Linked DNA regions of Homo sapiens: region 2 is linked to region 1. The links are contacts of gene promoters, found by promoter capture Hi-C in blood cells and fetal thymus (Javierre and others, 2016). All regions are on one chromosome and are shown on one strand. The core of a region is centred on a gene start or on the middle of the fragment in contact, and the rest is flanking DNA. Distances in the headings are between cores, read along the strand shown. Region 1 holds the start of BCDIN3D (BCDIN3 domain containing RNA methyltransferase). Region 2 holds the start of DHH (desert hedgehog signaling molecule).

What was found. The method cuts DNA at HindIII sites, captures the fragments that hold promoters and counts their contacts. A CHiCAGO score of 5 or more calls a contact.
Region 2: the fragment with the promoter of DHH here is called in contact with the fragment with the promoter of BCDIN3D in region 1 in 4 of 17 cell types (monocytes, non-activated CD4 T cells, neutrophils and 1 more); the score reaches 7.1 in monocytes.

The regions. Positions count from the first base shown.
Region 1 is chr12:49,840,888-49,844,772 of GRCh38, forward strand. BCDIN3D (BCDIN3 domain containing RNA methyltransferase) reads right to left here and starts at 2,219. Exons shown (of 2, transcript NM_181708.3): 1 at 1,967-2,219. The coding sequence starts at 2,200. BCDIN3D-AS1 (BCDIN3D antisense RNA 1) reads left to right here. Exons shown (of 3, transcript NR_027501.1): 3 at 1-267. RefSeq lists enhancers at 1,562-1,931, 2,502-2,561. The HindIII fragment of the contact is 7,812 bases long and covers 1-3,885 here.
Region 2 is chr12:49,092,769-49,096,653 of GRCh38, forward strand. It overlaps DHH (desert hedgehog signaling molecule), which reads right to left and starts at 2,033. Exons shown (of 3, transcript NM_021044.4): 1 at 1,442-2,033. The coding sequence starts at 1,744. It overlaps DHH-AS1 (DHH antisense RNA 1), which reads left to right. Exons shown (of 4, transcript XR_007063295.1): 2 at 62-137; 3 at 1,354-1,420; 4 at 2,633-2,976. RefSeq lists an enhancer at 1-50. The HindIII fragment of the contact is 10,631 bases long and covers 1-2,257 here.

The DNA.
Region 1 (3,885 bases), core at 969-3,468:
CAAGGCTCACTGCAGCCTCGACCTCCTGGGTTCAAGCGATCCTCCTCCCTCAGCTCTCTAAGTAGCTGGGACTACAGATGCCCACCACCACACCTGGCTAATTTTTTTTAGAGATGGGGTTTTGCCATGTTGCCCAGGCTGGGAAAGGAGTTTTTAAAATTGAAAAAAAAAAGCACCCATAAATTATGGTACATCTATCCAATGAAACATTAGGAAGCTGCTAAAAAAAGAATGTGGTGATATAAATAATCTCAGAATTAAAAGCTACTAATAGTGTGTTACCATTTGTAAAACTAAAAGGGGGGTACTTATATGTACGTAAATGCTGGTATACACACAAGACTGATACCTAAGAAATTATAAACAGTAGTGCCACTGTGTGGGGGAAAAGGAGGATTTAGGGTTGGGAGTAGAGACTTACTTTTTAGTATATACCCCTTTGTAGTTTGAATTTTTTTGTTTTATCAAGCGCAAGCATTTTTTTTCCCTTTCCTGACTACAAAGATCCACAAGAAAAAGCATTTTTTAAAAACTGCAAAACAGAAAGCTCCATAAACGTACAGCCAGGTTTGGGAACCACTACCCTAGTTAGCTGCCAACTATGTCTTTACCTCTCATGTGTATACTACTCTCAACTTTAAAATCTCTGGTGGTTTCCTAATGCCTTTCGTGAAATCCCAAGCCTTAACCTCAGTCTCTCTTTTCCATTGTTTTTACCCTCTGACTTCCCGTATCATCACAGCGGAGAAATTTTGCAGGGGACACAGGACATCAACCCATCTCCTCATTCCAGTCTTTGAGACTGTATCCAAATGTCCCCTTCCTACTATCATCTGAGTCCCACAAGGTCTGAAGTCGTCCCCCAAAGTCTCTTCTGTAAAAGGACAGCAACGTAACAGAATTGTCCCCCGCCCTCCAGATGCTGGACTGGAGTGATGGAGGGAGCGCAGAGAGGGTACTAACTTTTGAAGCATTTGCCGTGGTAAGTTCAGACTGCCTGCTAGTGTAGAATATCCCAGTGGCTACAAATAGGTGTGGGAGAGACATTTCCTTATTTTGCATGTGGTTTGATTATAATCATATGCCTAAGAATAGTTTGCAGCAAGAAGAGTGGCAGTGCCGCCCTTCTCCATTCCCTTGGGCAAAATGCTTTATTTGCTTCTCGATCCTCTCCACTGTACTCTGTCAACTCACTGTTTTGTTTTGTTTTTGAGACGGAGTCTCGCTCTGTCGCCCAGGCTGGAGTGCAGTGGCACTAGCTCGGCTCACTGCAAGCTCCGCCTCCCGGGTTCACGCCATTCTCCTGCCTCAGCCTCCGGAGTAGCTGGACTACAGGCGCCCGCCACCACGACCGGCTAATTTTTTGTATTTTTAGTAGAGACGGGGTTTCACCGTGTTAGCCAGGATGGTCTCGATCTCGTGACCTTGTGATCCACCCGCCTCGGCCTCCGAAAGTGCTGGGATTACAGGCGTGAGCCAGCGCGCCCGGCCTACTCACTTTTTTTGAAATAAACATGCAGGTCCCAGGGTCTGTCCTGCACTGTATAGCACACATGAGTCTCAATATCAGGCATGATTCTGTCACCCTTGGCTCTTCTCTCCCAGTAAACCAAACCTAACCCCATGTTCCCAAACGTGTGTCTCTGGAAGCCCCCTCTCCCCAGCCAAAGCGCCAGGCACGCTGGACAGAGGCCACCCTAGATACAAGGACCGTTCCCACCTGGGGTCTGGCCCTGAAAGAAAAGTGGGAACGTAGTCGACAAGGACTCCTCTCCAAGAGAGATTCCTAAGACAGATGGTGGAACCCTGGCGGGCAGGCAGCAGCGGCACTGGCTCAGTCAAAGCCACGCTTTATACTCGTTTTGGGAAAGTTTCGATGGGTGTTAGCCCAGGCCAGAACCACAGTGGATGTGTAGGCAGCCAACCACTTGGCTCCGGATGCTCCAATCCCTCCCCTGTCACTCACCCCGGAGTTACACCCCACGTCGAGCCCCAGAATCGGCCCGTTCTCGGGACTCTCAGGAAAGAGCTGTCGAAGCAGCTCCGGGGGCAGGAGGCGGAGCCGTTGCTCCGGAGGGTGGAAGCGAGAATAATGAGGAAAATTTCCGAACGGGGCGGCGCCAGGTGCCAGAACTCGCGATTCCTCTTCCGCTGCGGTCTCCTTAACACTCCCTCCATCCAGTTCCGTGGGCACCGCCATTAGCCTCAACACAGCCTCTGGGCCGTGGCGGAACCGGAAGCCGGGAACCTGCTGTCGGCGTGGGCGGTGGCGGTGCCAGCGCGCGTGCGTCGAACGGCTAGGGCGGGTGGCTAGAATTCTGCGGTGAATCAGAAAAGCTGTCCTGATTTCCTCTCGCTGTATACCTGGAGCCGGCGAGCGCCTGGGGCTTGCCTTGTATTATTGAACCCTCATCACAACACTGGGAGGGGATTAGCAATATCATCCACGTTTTACAGGGATGAAACAAACTCTGAGGGCTAAGTGTCTTGGCCAAGCTGACATAGTTTGAAACTTGGGCTACTTGACCCAGAACAAGTATACTAGTTTGTTGGGATCTTGGAAATCAATTTTAGTCCAATTTCCTTTCTTTATAAATGCAAAAAGTGAGACCGAGAGAACTTACTTGTCTGGGGTCATACATTGAATCTGTGACTCAAAAACTTCCACCCGGTTCAGGAAAGGGTAGCCAGGAGGTGCAGGTCACTTGCGAAGCCAGCCGACTCAGCCCTGTCCCCCAGGGGCAACTGTAGACCATGAGCTCCTTGAGAGGCAAGGACCGTGCCTTAAGAGCCAGCACTTAAAGAGTGCTTACCAGGCACCAGACACCCTTGTAAGCTCCTTAGTCAATCCTCTCACCCCGTGAGAAAATGACCGTATTATTATTCTTTTTATATAGATGAGGACACTGGAGTAAAACAAAGTAACTTGTCCAAGATCCCACAGTTAGAAATGATGGTACTAGGATTCGAACCCAGGGAGTTTGGATCCAGAGGATGTGCTTGCAACGGTGTGTTATTCTCAGCCTTGAGTCTCCTATACTTAACATGGGCCTGGCACAAAGATGCTCAACAAATGTTGTTGAATGAAAACTCAATAGAGAATACAATAAGGCCAGATCTGTTTGGGGAAACTTTAAATGGAAGGGAGAAAGGATGCCAACTGAAGCAGACATAGTGGAATGGAGTTGGGCAAGATGTGACTCAGAGATTGGAAATAACAGAGCTGATAAGGAGAGGAACTGAAGGGTCAACCTAGGTAGCAGGTTCCAGTCAAAAGCCAGGATGGCCCAGAATATCCGTCAGGGTCAACCAAGCATCAGCAGAGTTGTGCAGGACCCCCAACCCCACCCCTGCACCTGGCCCACCCATCTTAAAGGGGTATCCTGCTCCATGAGGCTGGCAGTTCGGTAAACTTCTTATAAGGCACTGGAGCATGACTCCTGCAAACAGTACCATCAGGAGTTAAAATAAGCGCTGTTTTCCTCTCAGTTTTTACTTTATATTTTCTTTTTCTTTTCTCCTTTTTTTGAGATAGAGTCTCACACTATTGCCTGGGCTGGAGTGCAATGACATGATCTCGGCTCACTGCAACCTTTGCCTCCCAGGTTCAAGTGATTCTCCTGCCTCAGCCTCCCAAGTAGCTGGAATTACAGGCACCCGCCACCATTCCTGGCTAAGTTTTTGTATTTTTTAGTAGAGACGGGGTTTCACTATGTTGGCCAGGCTGGTCTCGAACTCCTGACCTCGTGATCTGCCCACCTCGGCCTCCCAAAGTGTTGGGATTACAGGCGAGAGCCACCACGCCCAGCCTTTATATTTTCATCTCTATCTGGCCTGCTGTTTCTCTAGTTTCACTTATTTGAGGACACAAGTTAATAAAAGTCA
Region 2 (3,885 bases), core at 783-3,282, 750 kb before region 1:
GCTCCCAGGCCTGCCGGAGCCCCTCCTGAGCCTGTCCCTTGTTCTGCCCACTCTGCTGCAGGTGGCAACCAGAGGAAAGGGCCACAATGTTCCACGGCCAAGGAGGAAAGAAGGAATGCCCCTTTTCCCATCTCTAGGTAGGAGGAAGGCTTCAGGGCAGAAGCAAAAGGAATTATTTCTTCCCTGGACAGGTTTTCCTAACAAAGTAACCTGGAAAACTATGGCAATTAATCAGAGGAAATCCGTACCCCTCCCTCTCCCCCCACCTCCCCACTCCATACACAATTAGGTGGTGTAATGGAAAGTATATAGGGCTTAGAATCAGGAGTCCTGAATTCTAGTCCCAGCCATGCCACTTTAAATTGTGAGAGTTTAAATTGCTTTTCCTCCTGGGGGAAGTCCAGCTCTCAGATGTAAAATGAGGGTGGCAGTGGGGGTGGGGAGGGTTGGAGGAATGTCATCTCTCAAGTTTTCTTTCAGTTCTAACATTCAAGATCACTGGCCAGGCTGGATGAAGTGGCTCACACCTGTAATCCAGCACTTTGGGAGGCCGAGGTGGGAGGATCCCTTGAGCTCAGGAGTTCAAGACTAGCCTAGGCAACATGGCAAGACCCCGTCTCTACAAAAAATAAAAAATAAATCACTCGCCAGAGGTGGTCCTTCTCTTCCACCTCACTCTAGGTGGTTCCAATGCTCAAAAATGGTAGTTGAATTTATCCTAATTATGTAATTCCAAGGAAAGCCCCTGAGATAGGCAGAGCTTGGAAGACTTAGGAGCCCTCTGATTCTCAGGTGGGTCCATCTGTTATTCTCACTGAGGATTACTTTTTAACCCCAAGATTATCGTTTAGACCCTAGGATAGCCCTAGAATAGACCCTAGAATAGATGTGTCCTGGTTCTAGGACACGTTTCCCATGCCAAAAGCAATGTCTGCCCAGCCCCTCCTCAGGTAGATGGTCTGGTGACCTGACCCTTGGCCACCCCTGTCCCAGCCCTTTTCAGTCTCTTCTTTTCGGCCCACAGAGCTTTTCTACAATCAGGTCAGGAGCCAGGCTTCTGTCTGCTACCTAGCCAGCTCCTGGCCCCCAGCTCACCCCAGCCCTTCCTGCCTGGCTGGGTGGCTGACCCCCGGTCCACGCCTCAGCCATTTCCCGTCTCGCCTGCCGCCATCCTCCTTTCCCCGCCCTCGCTGCCTCTACCAGCTTCACTCTCACTAGTCAGTCCCTCCTCCCCTCCCCATCCCAGACTATTCTAGTCGGGAGCCGTCCTAATTACTCTGTCCAGACTGCAAGGATTTTTCCCCCCCCTGGGGCTGGTGACAAGGGAAATCTCTAAGGCTAAACTCTCTGTAGGTGAAGCTGGACTCACCCACCTGGGCTGCCATAGGAAAACGGAGGAGCTGGCAGTGCCCCGGCGCAGGTAGGGAGAGGCCCTCCTTACCTCGGTCATCAGGCGGTCGGCTCCACTGTTCTCCTCATCCTTGAAGATGATGTCGGGGTTGTAGTTGGGCACGAGGTCCCGGAAGCGCTCGGAGCCCCTTGCCACCCTCCCCTCCGCTGGCCCACTGGCGCCCAGGGTCCGCTCTGGCACGCCGGGCACAAATTGCTTGTAGAGTAGCGGCACGAGCTGCTTGCGCGCATAGCGGCGCCGGCCAACCGGCCCCCGGCCCGGCCCGCAGCTCTGGGCTGGCAGCGCCAGAAGTGCCAAGCAGCACAGGGGCAGTAGATTGGTCAGGAGAGCCATGGATACAGCGGACCTCGGCCAAAAGGGAGCGTTCTTGTCCTCACTAACTCTCCTGTCAGTTAGGCATCTCCACAGGCACCAGAGAGGGCAGCAGGCACAGCTGCCCCCAGAGTGCCCTAGAGCTCTTGTGGCTCCGTGCACCTGGCTGCTGCTAGCTCTGCCCACGTGCCCCGGGAGCGGGCGGGGGGTGTCTAGGACCTGCTACTGACAAACCATCATAGCAGGGAAGGGGGGTCGTGGGTGAGTGCCAGCCCAGCCCGTCTCTGCTGCAGGACTCTGGTGCTGCCAGAACGCCCGGACTCCGGACTCCGCCTTAAGTGGCCCCTGGCCCCGCCCTCCGCCCTTCTCCCAAGACCGTCCCACCCCCTCCCACCCGGGCGGGGGATCTAGCCGGTCACTGCTGGTCCATTTTGCGACTGAAGTGTGTCCCATCCTGGAAACCAGGCAGACACCTGCCTAGGAAATACTTGTAGCTTTACAGTCCTTGGCTGCCTAAACATCCTTCTACCTCCAAGCTTAAACTTGGAACCAAACCACCCTCCTCTGATACTTGAATTGGAATTTTTACTCTCTCAAAGCCTACCCTGGCAGGCCATGCCCTCCGCTGTCATCCAGGAAGTATGGGTTCCAATTTCTGCCCAAGACCAGCCAAGCCCTTTGGGCATACAACCAGAGCCTCCCTTCTCTGTAGTCCTCCCCAGATCTCCCCGACTTCCATCTCTCCTCACATTCAGCATTAAGCAGGACTGGGAGGTGAGGATACCAGGGGCCCATTTCTCTACTAACTTTGCAGTCTCCTTTGGAACTTCCCCAGAACCAGGAACAGAGCTTGGTACTTATTGTCTCATTTAGGACTTCCAACTTTTTTCCCCTTCTCTTCTTTGCCAGGCATCTAATAGCTGCTGTTTTTCAAATGAATGACTTCTCAGTTGGAAGCTGCTGAAGGGCAGTGGACACTCAAAAGTCTTTGTAAGAGGTGAGGATCACTTCCCTTAACCGTCCATCTAGGCACCTCTCCAGCTTTCTCCCTCTCTGGACTCCCGGGGCTCCATTTTCAGCCACTCAGATCTCATCTCAGAGGCACCACGTCCAATTTCTTTTGTTTAGAAGTCATTTCTTCTAAGAAGCCTTCCTTGATGTCCCAACACTGCCCACCTGTGTTCCCTCGAGAACCATTACTTAACTGCAGTGTTAGAACAGTATTAGAATTATCTGGCACCTTACTAGACAAAGCAATCTTAAGCACACACATATTTATCATGTATCTCCAAGGTTAAGTGCCTACTCTACAGAAGGGTGCTTTGCAAGCATTTGTGGAATCTACACTTTGTGTTTCATATTCACCCTCCCCTCACCACACTCTATGGCTAGTACTCATAGCAACTTTGTGTACATCAGAAAAAACCAGGCCAGGCACAGTGGCTCACTCCTGTAATCCCAACACTTTGGGGGCGAGGCAAGGACTGCTTGAGGCCATGAGTTGAAGACCAACTTGGTCAACATAGTGACACCCCGTTTCAAAAAAAAAAAATTAATTAGTGGGAGGTAGTGGTACATGCCTGTAGTCTTAGGTACTCAGGAGGCTGAGGAAGGAGGATCACTTGGGTGCAAGAGTTCAAGGCTGTAGAGTGAGCTAAGATCATGCCACTGCACTCTAACCTGGGTGACAGAGTGAGGACCCCCCCCCCCAAAAAAAAGATGGCTGGGTGTTGTGGCTAACCCCTGTAATTCCATCATTTGGGGAGTCCAAGGTAGGTGGATCACTTGAGCTCAGGAGTTCAAGACCAGCCCAGGCAACATGGCAAAACCCCATCTCTACTAAAAATACAAAAATTAGCCAGGCATGGTAGCATGTGTCTGTTGTCCTAGCTATTCTGGAGCCTGAGCTGGAAGAATGGCTTGAGCCCAGAATGCGGAGGTTGCAGTGAGCTGAGATTGCACCACTGCACTCCAGCCAGGGTGATAGAGCCAGACCTTGTCTCACAAAAAAAAAAAAAAAAAAAAGAAGAAGAAAAAAGAAAAAAAAAGCACCCCTTCCTCAAGATGACTGACATTTATTAGAAAACTATCATAGTAACTATCCACACAATGACTATGAGGTGAATGGTGTCCCTGGAAGCTGTGCAATACACAATCTGTAT